2 separate regions of the Homo sapiens genome follow, and region 2 is linked to region 1. The links are contacts of gene promoters, found by promoter capture Hi-C in blood cells and fetal thymus (Javierre and others, 2016). All regions are on one chromosome and are shown on one strand. Each heading gives the region's core, a stretch centred on a gene start or on the middle of the fragment in contact. The rest is flanking DNA. Distances are from core to core; before and after follow the strand shown. Region 1 holds the start of ADAM15 (ADAM metallopeptidase domain 15). Region 2 overlaps IL6R (interleukin 6 receptor).

Evidence for each region. The method cuts DNA at HindIII sites, captures the fragments that hold promoters and counts their contacts. A CHiCAGO score of 5 or more calls a contact.
Region 2: a contact is called between a fragment that was not itself captured here and the fragment with the promoter of ADAM15 in region 1, in 1 of 17 cell types (neutrophils). The highest score is 5.3, in neutrophils.

The regions. Positions count from the first base shown.
Region 1 is chr1:155,048,021-155,054,653 of GRCh38, reverse strand. ADAM15 (ADAM metallopeptidase domain 15) reads right to left here and starts at 3,338. Exons shown (of 23, transcript NM_207197.3): 1 at 3,189-3,338; 2 at 1,877-1,983; 3 at 1,161-1,237; 4 at 666-744; 5 at 428-504; 6 at 148-340. The coding sequence starts at 3,267. It overlaps DCST1 (DC-STAMP domain containing 1), which reads right to left. Exons shown (of 17, transcript NM_152494.4): 16 at 6,484-6,597; 17 at 3,724-4,037. The coding sequence ends at 3,786. DCST1-AS1 (DCST1 antisense RNA 1) reads left to right here. Exons shown (of 4, transcript NR_040773.1): 2 at 5,293-5,385. ADAM15-EFNA4 (ADAM15-EFNA4 readthrough) reads right to left here and starts at 3,338. Exons shown (of 26, transcript NR_176418.1): 1 at 3,189-3,338; 2 at 1,877-1,983; 3 at 1,161-1,237; 4 at 666-744; 5 at 428-504; 6 at 148-340. RefSeq lists a silencer at 3,174-3,633 and an enhancer at 4,104-4,163. The HindIII fragment of the contact is 11,546 bases long and covers 1,803-6,633 here.
Region 2 is chr1:154,449,556-154,456,188 of GRCh38, reverse strand. It overlaps IL6R (interleukin 6 receptor), which reads right to left. Exons shown (of 10, transcript NM_000565.4): 8 at 6,209-6,278; 9 at 1,608-1,701. Among named protein-coding and RNA genes, the nearest start is that of IL6R-AS1, 46 kb to the right of the region's middle. The HindIII fragment of the contact is 3,626 bases long and covers 1,880-5,505 here.

The sequences.
Region 1 (6,633 bases), core at 2,089-4,588:
GTACACGAGCTAATGTTCACAAAGTGCCCAGCATGTGGAAAGTGCTCCATTCGCAGGAGCTGTTGTTACTGTGCACACATAGCTCTAAGTGTCTGGGGATCAGCCCTCAAGACAACCAAAGCCCACCCCCCTGCCATTCATCCTCACCCGGCGAATGTGGCGCTGTCCCAGGGGGTGCTCTGGTGGCTTCTGAGTGTGTACAGATTCCCGCCAGCTCAGGGCACAGGTGTGGCCTGGCAGGTGGAGATCTTGGATTCGCGAAATAATGGGAGGACCCTGAAGGTCCCCAGGCCCCTGCTCCAGGGTATAGCTTCTCTCTGGGGTCAGGACCACCAAGCCTCTAAGAAAAAAGAAAGTCAGAGAACATTTCAGCTCCATGCCTGGGTCTCCTTACTTTCTCTACTGTCATTAAATCCGCCCAGTATACCTGAGCCCAGAGCAGGTGCAGATGGACACCCAGGAGCCTGCATATCCCCGCACTCTTCCCTGGTAGCAGCAGTTCTCCTGCAGCATGGGAACAACATTAGTGCTGTCTCAGAGAGCACACCAGGACTGGAACTGAGGAGCCTAGCTTGACGGTAAAAATATGCAGTGTCCTCTCACCTTCCAGCCACCCCCTCCCTCTTTCCCCTAAGCCAAAAATGGCACAAGAGGGCCTGACTCACCAAAGTGTGTCCCTCACTGACCACCCGAGTGCCATCGGGCTGGTACCACACCAGGGTTGGGCGGCCTGGGACCAACTCCCTGTGGAGTGAAGAAAAAGAAGGCAGTGCTAAAGCCACTTCCCAGGTCGTGCATTGACAAGCAGAGGCTTGAAGGTGGTTGTGGGGCTGGGGACCAGGCAACCCCCGCAGCCAACTTTTCCACTCCTGACCCCGGGGCAGCAAAGTATACTGGTTGGGCCACTGACTCTGTTAGTTTATTTGAATTCCAATCTGGTTTTCACCACATACTAGCTGTGTGACCTGGGGCAAGTTATTTAATCTCTCTGTGCCTTGACTTCCTCATGTATAAAGTGAGGACAATAATACATGATAGTATATCCCTTATAGGGCTGTTATGAGGATTAAATGAGCACAAGCACTTAGTACCTGGCACATAATAAATGCTATACAAGTTGTTGGCCATGTGGTCACTGTTATTGCCACCATCACTATTACCTATTCTGTAGCAGCTCCAGGATATGACTGTCACCGTCCAGCTCCAACTTGATCCTCAGGGGCTCAGGCAGACTGGTCTGTGGGCACCAGAGGGCAGGTCACCTCCCTAGACCTGTCCACAACTCCCAGCCTCTCTAACCAGAAAACCTCAGGCCCACAGAAGAGCACCAGCAATTAGATCACTGGTGGGGGGATCCCAGGGGAGGGGCCAGGAAACCCTGCCTGGCCTGGAGCATTGTTCTGGGGGGTTGTGTGCGGAGGTCAAGGAAGGTATCTGAGCCACCCCTTCTCGGCTTCCTGCCCAGAGAGGAAGCACCGTGTAGGACCCAGCACAAGCCCCAGCCCTTCCTCTGACTCAGCTTTAGAATGGGGTGGGGGGGGGGGGGTTTGGTAAGGTCCTGACTCTTTCCAAATCCCCCCACTGAGAAAACCGACAACATGAGATGAAGAAAGCAAGTTTGGCTTCACAATTTCCCCAGTGGAGATGGATGGGTTGGGTGGGGCTGAGGCAGACAGATACACGTGTGTGCAGAGGGAGAGGGAGATAAGTGAAGCCAGGTGCTGGGGTGTGGTGGGAGAGGCAGCTGGGCCTGGGATAGACCCACTACAGTGAGCTCTACCCACCAGCTCCTCAGCCAAGCTTTGGCTTTGAGACACCTGGCTATACCGGGGCGTGTGTGGATTCGTTTATTTATTAGAGGGGAGTGAGAGCTCACCTGAAGCACCTTTTTGAGGCTAATTGGGAGATCGTCCTGAAGGACCTGGGGCTCCAAGGGCTCCCTCGGGGCCTTCTCTGACTCTGCCTGCTGCTCCTCAGTGCCACCTGCAGGTCCCAGGACACCCCAAGACAGTACTGAGGGAATCGACAGCAGGGCTGGGGGTGACAGGTGCCCTCAGATCCACCAGCTCCCAGCCCATCAAGACCCTTAGGTACCTGAGGGGCTTCCACATTGCATGCTGAGACTTAAAGAAGAATACTGGAAGGAGAGGGTGTCTCTCTAATTTATGGCTTTCCACCCACCAACCCATTCACAAGTCCCCAAGAAAGACTTTCGGCTTGCGCAGCCTGTGGCCCTCCTTGTCCCCTTCCGGCCAATCCCAGGTTCTCACAGGACCCTCCCCGGTTCCCACTCCCTCCCAATCACTCTCCCCCCACTTCAGGAACGCCCCCTCTCGAGACTGAGCTAAGCCTTGTGGCCGGGTGCCCGCTCACCCTCCCCTTCGCTCACATCGGAGATGCCAGGAACGCCCATTTCTGGGTGAGCAGTGCAAACACCCCCACCTCCCTAAACACCCTCATGCCCAGTCAGGCACACCCGCTGCCTACAGCCTCTGCTTCCTCCTCGAGCACCCCCCACCCCCCCAACACACAATGGCCCTCTCTCCTCCGGACACTCCACCCGCGCCTGCCCTCTCGGTCCCGGCCCAAGACAGCAGCGGGAAGTGAAAGTTCCAAGGAGGAGTTGGTGTCCCAGCCTCTTTCCTGGCCAATTCTCCCTTCTCCTGGCTCATCTCGGGCCCCTCCCGCTCGGCCAGGCACTGGTGGCAACAGCACCAGGGTGAGGAGTGCCTGGCGGCCCCAGGCCTGGAATAGAGGCTAGAGAGAATCCTCTTCACTAAACCCTACAAGCCATGCCCGCTCAGCGCCCTGGCACCGGGTCGAACGGTTAGCTAGGCCCCAGAGCAGCGAAGATGCCAGTCCTGGGGAGCAGCGACCCTCTCATCACGATCTTGAAGTGGCGCTGGACAGGCCCCTCGGTACCTGGTACCTGAGCCTGAAAGTGTCCGCAGGGACCGCGCAGAGGATGACCAGGCAGGAGGCAGGGGGCGCCGGCATCCCCCCTCCTTCTCTTTTCACCCCATCGCCAAGTCACCGGGCCCTAGGCCCAGGACAGCGGACCAGGGCGGGCCGCGCTCTGGCTGGGCTCTCCCAGGGTCTCCGTCCGGCCCCATTACCCTAATGCCTTCCGACTTTCCTGCACCTCCCTCCCAGTCCGCCCCCCGACCCACTCCAGGCGGAGGACTCACCTATATTTGGGAGCGGCCAGGAAGGCAGAGGGCTGCCCGCGCCCAGGAGCCCCAGGGCCCAGAGCAGCGCCAGCCGCATGGCAGCGGCGCTCCGGGCCGGGCGAGGGCAGCAAGTGCGGAACAGCGCGCGGAGGAGCGGCCGGCGGCCAGGTCGCCTCGGAGAACCCAGCAGCGCCGCGCGGCCACCAGGCCCCGCCCCGGCCCGCCCCCTCCCACCCGGCCCCAAGCCAAGCTCCGCCCCCGGCAAAGCCCGCCCCGCTGCGCGCCGGGTGCCTCGGGAGCGGGGACACCGCCCACTACGCCCGCGCTGCTCAGCGCTACCGCTTCCCCGCAACTGTGCGGAGTGGGAGCCGGTGCCCGGTCCGACCGGCTTGGGCGGCGCGCCTTCACCCGGCGCCAGGTCCGGACCCCTCCCTAGTAGCTTCGCGGCCTCCCTGCCTCCTGTGCGCGGCCTGGCTCGGAGAGGTCGGGCGGGCAGGCTTTCCCGACTGCAGGCGAGGCAGTGCGCGGCTCACCCCAGTCCCCGACCCACGTGAAGCGTACAGGGCATTTTATTAACCGGGAAGGACGGTGCGGAAGAGCGAGCAGGACGCCTCTTCACCCCGCGTAGGCAGTGTCGTCGTTGCTGTCACTAAAGGCGGAGGAAGAGAGCTCTTCGCGGGGCGTGCAGACCGGGCACCGCTGCCGCATGTCGTCCCAGCACGACCAGCAGTACACGGCCTCGCAGTCCAGCGTCCGGCACACGTAGGACTCGGGCGTCTCGGGTGCCTGGCACACCACGCAGCGCCGGCACAGCCAGCGGCGCAGGAGCGGGCAGCCGCGGTGCAGGATATCCGCCAGCGGGTGGCGCTGTTGGGAGGTGGGCGTTAGCGCCAGCCCGGGAGCGAGGCGGGAAAGAAGGGGAACTGGACAGCGTTTCCTGTCTGAAGTCGCCAGGCCTGACAATTCCCGCGTGTTGGAGGAGGCTGGGTTGGACAAAGGAAACCCCTGGAGGGCGAGGGTGCCTCCCTCCCCAACTCTGTGATGGAGAATGGGAGGATGCACCCTCCAGGCTCTCTCCAAGCGGATATCAGCCACAACTCTCATTTGCACTTTCCTGTAAATCATCTTATTTGGTTCTCACAGTGAGGCTGAGAAGTGAGCAGGCCAGATCGACTATCACTGTTGCTATCCCCACTTTACAGTTGAGAAAGGTGAAGTGACTCTCAAAGTCACACAGATAGTAAACAATCCAACTTGGCTGGACCCCAGGGGCCCTGATTCCAAACCACAAACCTAGTTCACTATGCTCCCTGCCATCCCTCACGACATGTCTCTACACAGTTGTCAGGGATTTTCCACAGGCCACCTTACCCAGGAAGCAGCCACTCTTTGCCCAAGAAACTCCAGAGGCCCTGCTGCCTGCCAGACAGGCAGAACTCTTGGGCTTGGCCTTCAGAGCCTTCCCTCACCTGGTCCCTTTCTAGCCTCTTTCCTACTTTAGCCCTCCCTGAGAGCTGTCTCTTCTGAGCCAGTTTCTCCTGAGACTAGCCCTGGCACTTCGCATTCCCTGTGGACTGAGTCTTTGCACATTCTGCTTGGAATGACTGTCTGGCACATTTCCATCTGTGCATTCACATTCAGTTTGCTTCACGACCCTGTCAAGGAATCCCAGCATGTTCTTTTTTGTTTTTTGTTTTTCATTTTTTCACAACACATTCATTTGGCCCCTATTGTGTGTCATGGGGGCTGGGGGTATCCAGGCCCTAGGGAAAAAGCTAAGCAAACACAGTCTCACTTTTATGAACTTTGTTAGGACTGATTAAATAAGAATGGCTGCCACTCATTGTTTATAATGTCAGGTCCTGTACTAAGATACTGTACATAAATTATTTCAATTCTAAATTAGCCGGGCGTGGTAGTGTGTGCCTGTAATCCCAGCTACTCGGGAAGCTGAGGCACGAGAATCGCTTGAACTGGGGAGGTGGAGGTTGCAGTGAGCCAAGATCACGCCACTGCACTCCAGCCTGGGCGACAGAGTGAGACTTAGTCTCAAAAAAAAAAAAAAATTCAATTCAATTGTCATGTAAGGCAGATAGTGTTATTATCATCTCCTTTTTTTCAGGTGAGAAAACTGATGCTTGGAGATGTGATCACTGCCCAGGGTCACCCAATGATAACATGCATGCATATGGAACTTGCTGCATGCCAGCACCATGTAAGTACAACTCATTTAATCCTTAAAACAACCAGATGGAGTAGTTAACCCCATTTTATGGAAGGCAAAAGCCCAGGCACAGCAGTTAAGTCATGTGCTCAAGGTCACACCGTTGTCATAGTAATGAGGGAAGGAGCCGGGATACACACTTAGGCCCTCTGGCACCGGAGTCCCACACCTGACCACCACTCTAGGCTGATCTCCAGTGAGCAGGCCTTACAGATCTCTCCAGTCTTGCCATTCTTCAGAGGGAGAAACTGAGGCTCAGTGAAGACCTTGGCCAAGGTGACACAACTTAATGAGGGAGTATGGACTGGAGTCTGCTTCCTCAGATTCCATGTGCCTTACCATGTGCCCCTGCATGAGGCCTTCCTGACTCCCAGCCCACCTGCCTCCTCCTGTCCCTTGAACTGCACTGAGCTTCTGGTCTGCAGCCCTCTGGTAGAAACTTTGGTTTTGCCTTGGGCCTCCTGTTTCTGTGCGGCCCTCTTGCTTTTCTATGAGCAGACTGTATTAAATCTCATTCTCCTTTTCTGCCTGCTTCCTAATGGTCCACTGAGTGTCTTAGGCTGGGCTGAATCCTGGGATTCAGAAACGGGCACAGCCCTGACCTTAGGAGCTGGATGGCTGGGGCCCTCAGCATGTGTTGCATCAGATTACACCGGGCTTGGCTGGGCTTGGTGGCTCACGCCTGTAATCCTAGGACTTTGGAAGGCTGAGGTGGGCAGATCACCTGAGGTCAGGAGTTTGAGACCAGCCTGGCCAACATGGTGAAACCCTGTCTCTACTAAAAATACAAAAAAATAGCTGGGCGTGATGGCGTGTGCCTGTAATCCTGGCTACTTGTGGAGTGGGGGGCTGAGATAGGATAATCGCTTGAACCTGGGAGGCAGAGGTTGCAGTGAGCCGAGATCGTGCCACTGCACTCCAGCCTGGGCGACACAGTGAGATTCCATCTCAAAAAATAAAAAGAACTTACCAGGCTCGAGTAGGCCTGCGACCATTGGTGGGTGCTGGGTGGACTGAAGGGAGCTGCCCCTTGCCTGCTGTACTTAGACCCAGCCAGGAGCTGGCAGCAGCACTTACGCCTGGACTTACCGGAGCCTTCTGCTGTCGCTCCCGCCTCAGGATAGCGGCCCTCCTGAGTTTGGTGAAGGCTGCTCTTTTCTTCAATAGGTCATTGTAGAGGAACAGGATCCGCTTCTTCTCTCGCTGGGGGCAGGAAGGGGGTCAATGATAGAGAAAGGC
Region 2 (6,633 bases), core at 2,443-4,942, 600 kb after region 1:
CCAACCCATTGCCACCATCCTAAAACAGTTTATTATTATCTCTTGCCCAGACCCTGGGCTACTGCATCCATTTTCACTCACCCCATCCAGTCTCCAAACTGCATTGAGAGTGACTTTTTGGTTTTCTTTGTTTGAGATGAGTCTCATTCTGTCACCCAGGCTGGATTGCAGTGGCGCAATCTTGGCTCACTGCAACCTCCGCTTCCCAGGTTCAAGTGATTCTCCTGCCTCAGTTTCCCGAGTAGCTGGGATTACAGTCAAGCACTACCATGCCCAGCAAATTTTTGTATTTTTAGTAGAGACAGGGTTTTATCATTTTGGCCAGGCTGGTCTCGAACTCCTGACCTCAGGTGATCCACCTGCCTCAGCCTCCCAAAGTGATGGAATTACAAGCGTGAGCCACAGCGCCTGGCCCAGGTTCTTCTTAAAACTCCACAGGCTGGGCGCGGTGGCTCACGCCTGTAATCCCAGCACTTTGGGAGGCTGAGGCAGGCGGATCACGAGGTCAGGAGATCGAGACCATCCTGGCTGACACGGTGAAACCCTGTCTCTACTAAAAACACAAAATATTAGCCGGGCATGGTAGCGGGCACCTGTGGTCCCAGCTACTCAGGAGGCTGAGGCAGGAGAATGGTGTGAACCCAGAAGGTGGGGTTGCAGTGAGCTGAGATCGCACCACTGCACTCCAGCCTGGGCGACAGAGCAAGACTCTGTCTCAAAAAAAAAAAAAAAAGAAAAGAAAAGAAAGAGAAAGAAAAAGAAAAAGAAAAAAACTCCAACAGACACTCCTTAGCCTCAAGAGAAGGCCTAAAATCCTCCCACCTCTTTCAAGGCCTTTTATGACCTGGTGCCAGCCTACCTGTCCACTCTTCCTGCCCCATATTGCCCCAACCGTGCTGCGCCCCCTTCACAGACACGTGCATGCACACGCTGTCAACCATATTACATGCTGGGCTTCTCTCCTAAGAACCCTCTTTGGGCCGGGCATGGTAGTTCACACCTGTAATCCCAACACATTGGGAGGCCAAGGCAGGCGGATCACTTGACCCTGGGAGTTTGAGACCAGCCTGGGCAACATGAAACCTCATCTCAACAAAAAATAGAAAAATTAGCTAGGCAGGGTGGTGTGCACCTGCAGTCCCAGCTATTCCAGAGGCTGAGGTGGGAGGATCACTTGAACCTAGGAGGCAGAGGTTGTCCTGTGAGGCGAGATTGCACCACAGCACTCCAGCCTGGGTGACAGAGTGAGATGCTGACTCAAAAAAAAAGAACCCTCTTCTTTCTCAGACCAATTCCTCTTCCTCCTTAATGCCAGGTCAGTTCTCCTCACCATGGCATGCTTTTTGTAGCTCTTACCACAGTAGTGATTACCTCTTCGTGTCTGACTTCTTCCTGAGACTGTATCTGTCCTGCCCAGCATTGTCTCCTGCAGCACCTAAAACACGGCTTGGCATAATAGTAGGTGTTGTGTGTGTTGTGGTGTGTGCATTCATTTGATGAATGGATAAATGAATGAATAAATGCACCATAAATTTCAGAATGGGCAAAGGAAAGCTAGATAAGAAATATGAGAACACCACAGGGCCATCCCCTGGGACCCATCTCACCTCAGAACAATGGCAATGCAGAGGAGCGTTCCGAAGGCCAGGCTCCCTCCAGCAACCAGGAATGTGGGCAGTGGTACTGAAGAAGAATCTTGCACTAGGTTAAAAAAAAAATTGAAGATAGAGGAGGAAGAGGAGAATATGGAGAAAAAGGAATAGGAGGAGAAGAAAACCACTTAGCTGGTGCTGTCAAAAGCCTCAAAGGAACCTTCCCCTCCAACCCCCCTCCCAGAAAATGAAACAGCTCTGCCAACCAACAGGCCATTTGACAAGCTTAACTGTTTTTTGTTTGTTTGTTTGTTTGTTTCTTAACAAAGCCCACTCTAGATTCCAGGATTCCACCACTTGGCAAGAGAGACACCTCAAGCTCAGGGTTTCTGAGCGCCTGTGGCTAGCCACAGACTCCTACTCACTTTCAGAGTGGCTTTTCTGGTGACATTCCACCTGCTCCCACAAGGCACAAAGAGGGTACAACAAACGGAAGGCTTTGGGGACCTCCTTGATGGCAGTTCCTTTGAGGACAATGTCAGAGAGGATTGGATGCTTTAAATCAAGTGTTTGGAAGCAGTTTTCTCCATGGGGGTGTCATCTCTTGCCTGTCCCTGCATTTGGTACTCAAGCCCCAGCCATATGAACTTCATTCAGTTCTCCAACAAGCCATGATCTTTTTCCTCCAGGGCTCTCCACACACGTTCCCTCTTCTCTCCTGTCTGTTTTCTCTACCTTTGCTGCACCCTTTTGTGGTCTAGTCCCTACTTGGCCTTTGGATCTCAGATGAGGTGATGTCATTTCCTTTGAGAATTGACCCCACTCCAAGCTGAGCAAGTGCCCCTCCCAGTATTTCTCCATTTCCACCTCTAGACTGAGTTCCCTGAAGGCAGGGACCACATGTGTCTTTTTCACTGTAACACTGCCAGCAGCTTACACAGTGCCGAATACAAAGTAGGATCGCCAAAATATTTCTTTGAATGAAGGAAAGAACAAACCAGCTTTGCAAGCAGCCATGTCTTCCCACAGAAAGGCTCTTCCTACCACTGCCAGAGTCCCTGGACTAGACAGAGGGCACATCTAAACAAAACCATCTCCTTCTGCTGGGAATGCAGTCACAGTTGTATGGACCCAGCATTCAGGCTCTTCTACCCAAAATGCAATCCACTGCTGACGAAGAGGCTGCCTGCCAGCCATCACTTCAGATGCCTACTAGAGTCAGGCAGCGCAGAGAGCCCAGACTGGTGAGCGGGCGCTGGCTGCAAAGACAAGTTTCTCCAAGCATGTCCCATGTCTCTTGAGAGATGCAGCTGTGTAATGAAAGCAGTATGCTTGGCTTGCTCATTTATTAACATTTCATCATCTTTTCTATTTGTTCCTTCTTTTTTTTTGAAATGGAGTCTCGCTCTTGTCACCCAGGCTGGAGTGCAGTGGTGTGATCTCCGCTCACTGCAGCCTCCGCCTCCCGGGTTCAAGCAATTCTCCTACCTCAGCCTCCCAAGTACCTGGGACAATAGGCACATGCCACCATGCCCGGCTAATTTTTGTATTTTTTGTAGAGATGAGGTTTTGCCATGTTGCCCAAGCTGGTCTCCAACTCCTGACCTTAGGTGATCCGCCCACCTCGGCCTCCCAAAGTGCTGGGATTACAGGCATGAGCCACGGCGCCTGGCCATATATTTGTTCCTTCTTTCATCCAACAAATATTCTTTGAGTGCCTATCATGTATCTAAATGGATCTTACATCCAATCAAGGGAGACAGACAAATGAATTTTTTTTTTTTTTGAGACGGAGTCTTGCTCAGTGGCGCTGTCTCGGCTCACTGCAACCTCCGCCTCCCGGGTTCACCCTATTCTCCTGCCTCAGCCTCCCGAGGAGCTGGGACTACAGGCACCCGCCACCACACCCGGCTAATTTTTTGTATTTTTAGTAGAGACGGGGTTTCACCGTGTTAGCCAGGATGGTCCTGATCTCCTGACCTCGTGATCCACCTGCCTCGGCTCCCAAAGTGCTGGGATTACAGGCGTGAGCCACCGCGCCCGGCCAAACAAATGTTTTTTAAAAAAATTATCAGGAAAAGCCTCCCGGAGAAGGGTGCATCTGAGCAGAGACTTGAGTAATAGGAAGGAGCTGGCAAAGTGAATGTCAGAGGAAGCGTGTCCAGGCAGAGCACACAGCAAGTGCAAAGGCCCTGAGGTAGAGCATGTGTGGAGGAGCAAGGAGGGCAGTGTGGCTGGGGCAGAGCGAGGAAAGGGAGAATGGAGAGGCAACGTCTAAAGATAGGGGACCACATGGCTTTGCTGGGACTCCTCGTAGAAACTGGGGACTTTGTCAAGACTTTGACTTTTACTCTGGGGGAGATGGTACTGAGCCAGAGAGAGCTTGGATTTGTGTTTTAAGGGATACTCTAAGTGCTGGTTGGAAAAGAGTTGGTTGGGGGTTAAGACTAGAAGTTGGTAGACCAGTTGGCAGCCCAGGAAGCCCTGCTGGATGAGAGGCGGCAGGGGCTGGACTGGGTGTTGGCACTGGAGATGGTGAGGAGTGGTCAATTCCTAGATACGTCTCAAAGCACAAGGACAACGCTTGCTGAGGGACTGGACACAGGATGAGGAGTAGGGAGGAAGCCTGCCCGATCCCCCGCACCTGAGCAAATGCGGTACCAGTTACTGAGATAGGGAAGATGGAGAAGAACAGATCTGGGTTGAATAGGTGGGGAGGCGTCAGGTGTTCTCTTTTAGACATGTTAAATTTGAGAATGCTGGCCAGGCGCGGTGGCTCACACCTGTAATCCCAGCACTTTGGGAGACCGAGGCAGGCAGATCACCTGAGGTGGGGAGTTCGAGTCCAGCCTGACTAACATGGAGAAACCCCGTTTCTACTAAAAATACAAAATTAGCCAGGCGTGGTGGTGCATGCCTGTAATCTCAGCTACTCGGGAGGCTGAGGCAGGAGAATCGCTTGACGAGACTCCGTCTCAAAAAAAAGAAAAAAAATCATCAGTGAGGGTGGACGAAGAGGACTGGAGGTTCCCCTCCTCCATAGCAGCTTTTGTTTTTGTTGTTGTTGTTTTGTTTTTTTGACATGGAATCTCACTCTGTGGCCCAGGCTAGAGTGCAGTGGCTCGATCTCAGCTCACTGCAACCTCTGCCTCCCAGGTTCAAGTGATTCTCTTGCCTCAGCCTCCCAAGTAGCTGGGATTATAGGCACCTGCCATCACGCCTGGCTAATTTTTGTATTTTTAGTAGAGATGGGGTTTCACCATGTTGGCCAGGCTAGTCTTGAACTCCTGACCTCAGGTGATTCTCCTACCTCGGCCTCCCAAAGTGCTGGGATTACAGGCGTAAGCCACCGCGCCCGGCCCATAGCAACCTTTGAACACCCAACCTCTTGCATCCCACCCATACCATTCAAAGCCCATTTCAAATGGCACTTCCTCCATGAGCTTTCTGTGACTGCTCAGCTTGATATACTCTTTCAAATCTCTAAATTCCACTTTGCTTTATCTGTGCCTCCCTTTTGGCCCATCTCACATGCTGGTCTTTGTCACAGTTACCAATTTACTCTTTGTCAGAGCCTGGACTGTAGCCTCCTTGAGAACAGGGATGGCTCTAATCCTCTCCGAGTCCCCAACTGTGCAGAGCTCAGCCCCAGGTATTTAGCAGGTCCTCCACAGGTGCACTGCACCATGGTAGGGCTTTGTACCTGGGCTGTTGTAGCAGAGGCAGCCAGCATCAGTGCAGGCAGGAATCCACCCAGGGATGGGGAACGAGGGCAAGGACTGCCTCACGAAGCCCAAGAGTCATCAGGGGAGCTGCTCAACTACTGAACCTCTGGAGTCTGGATTCCATAAGTCCCATATACCTAGTCAAACACAGGACTTGTGATCTTTCTTGATTCAAATACTGGTAAGCTTTCCTGGTCTTGCAGGGATAGGGAATCAAAAGCATTGAAATCAAGGGCTCCCAAAATAAAGATTTCCCTCAACAGGTATTCCATTTCAGACTCCAATAATCTTGTTTGCAGCACATTCATTTGTATTGTGGGCCAACTGTGAAATATCTCACTTTTCAAATATCTCGAAGTGATTTGTCCCACTTTTCTTACGGTCTCCTCATTATATCTTAGCTAACAATATCAAAGTTCAACATATAAAGTAATAAAAGAACATTTCTGGCCAGGCACGGTGGCTCATGCCTGTAATGTCAGCACTTTGGGAGGCCGAGGTGGGTGGATCACAACGTCAGGAGTTCAAGACCAGCCTGGCCAACATAGTGAAACCCTGTCTCTAGTAAAAATACAAAAATTAGCTGGGCATGGTGGCATGCGCCTGTAATCCCAGCTACTTGGGAGGCTGAGGCAGGAGAATCGCTTGAACTCAGGAGACAGAGGTTGTGGTGAGCCGAGATCATGCCACGGCACTCCAGCCTGGGCAACCGAGCAAGACTCTCTCCAACACACACACACACACACACACACACACACACACACACAGAACATTTCTGCGATTGATCTGTGATTGATCCTCTGACGACATGTCCAAATAAGAAAGGACTTTCTGCAGAGACAAATCTTCTGTCCCTCGGACCCTGGGAATATGAAAATACCCAGTCCTTACCTGGGAGGCTTGTCGCATTTGCAGAATCTCTGAAGAGAATATTATCATCGTCTTTATTAGTAGTAAGTGCCTAAAAGAGACATTCCTCACCATCAGCCTGTTTCTGCAGATTGCACCATCATTCAGAACCAGTTCAGGAGTTACCTCCTCCTCAGAGCCCTCCCTGATCCACCCAAAGCATTCCTTTCTCCATTTCATTCATAACAGTGGAAAAATCAATAATACTATTATTTGCATTTTTTCTATCCACACCATGCCTGCTAAAGGTGGGGCTTTCTTTCCACCTGCCTCTCCACCAAAAGCTTAAAGCTGCACAGAGAAGATGCTCAGTGGATACACTGAAGCAGCTGTTGTCCTTACAGGTCCGATGCAAGGATGCAGGTACTACCATGACTGGAATGCTGGTTCCACCACTTACGAGCTAT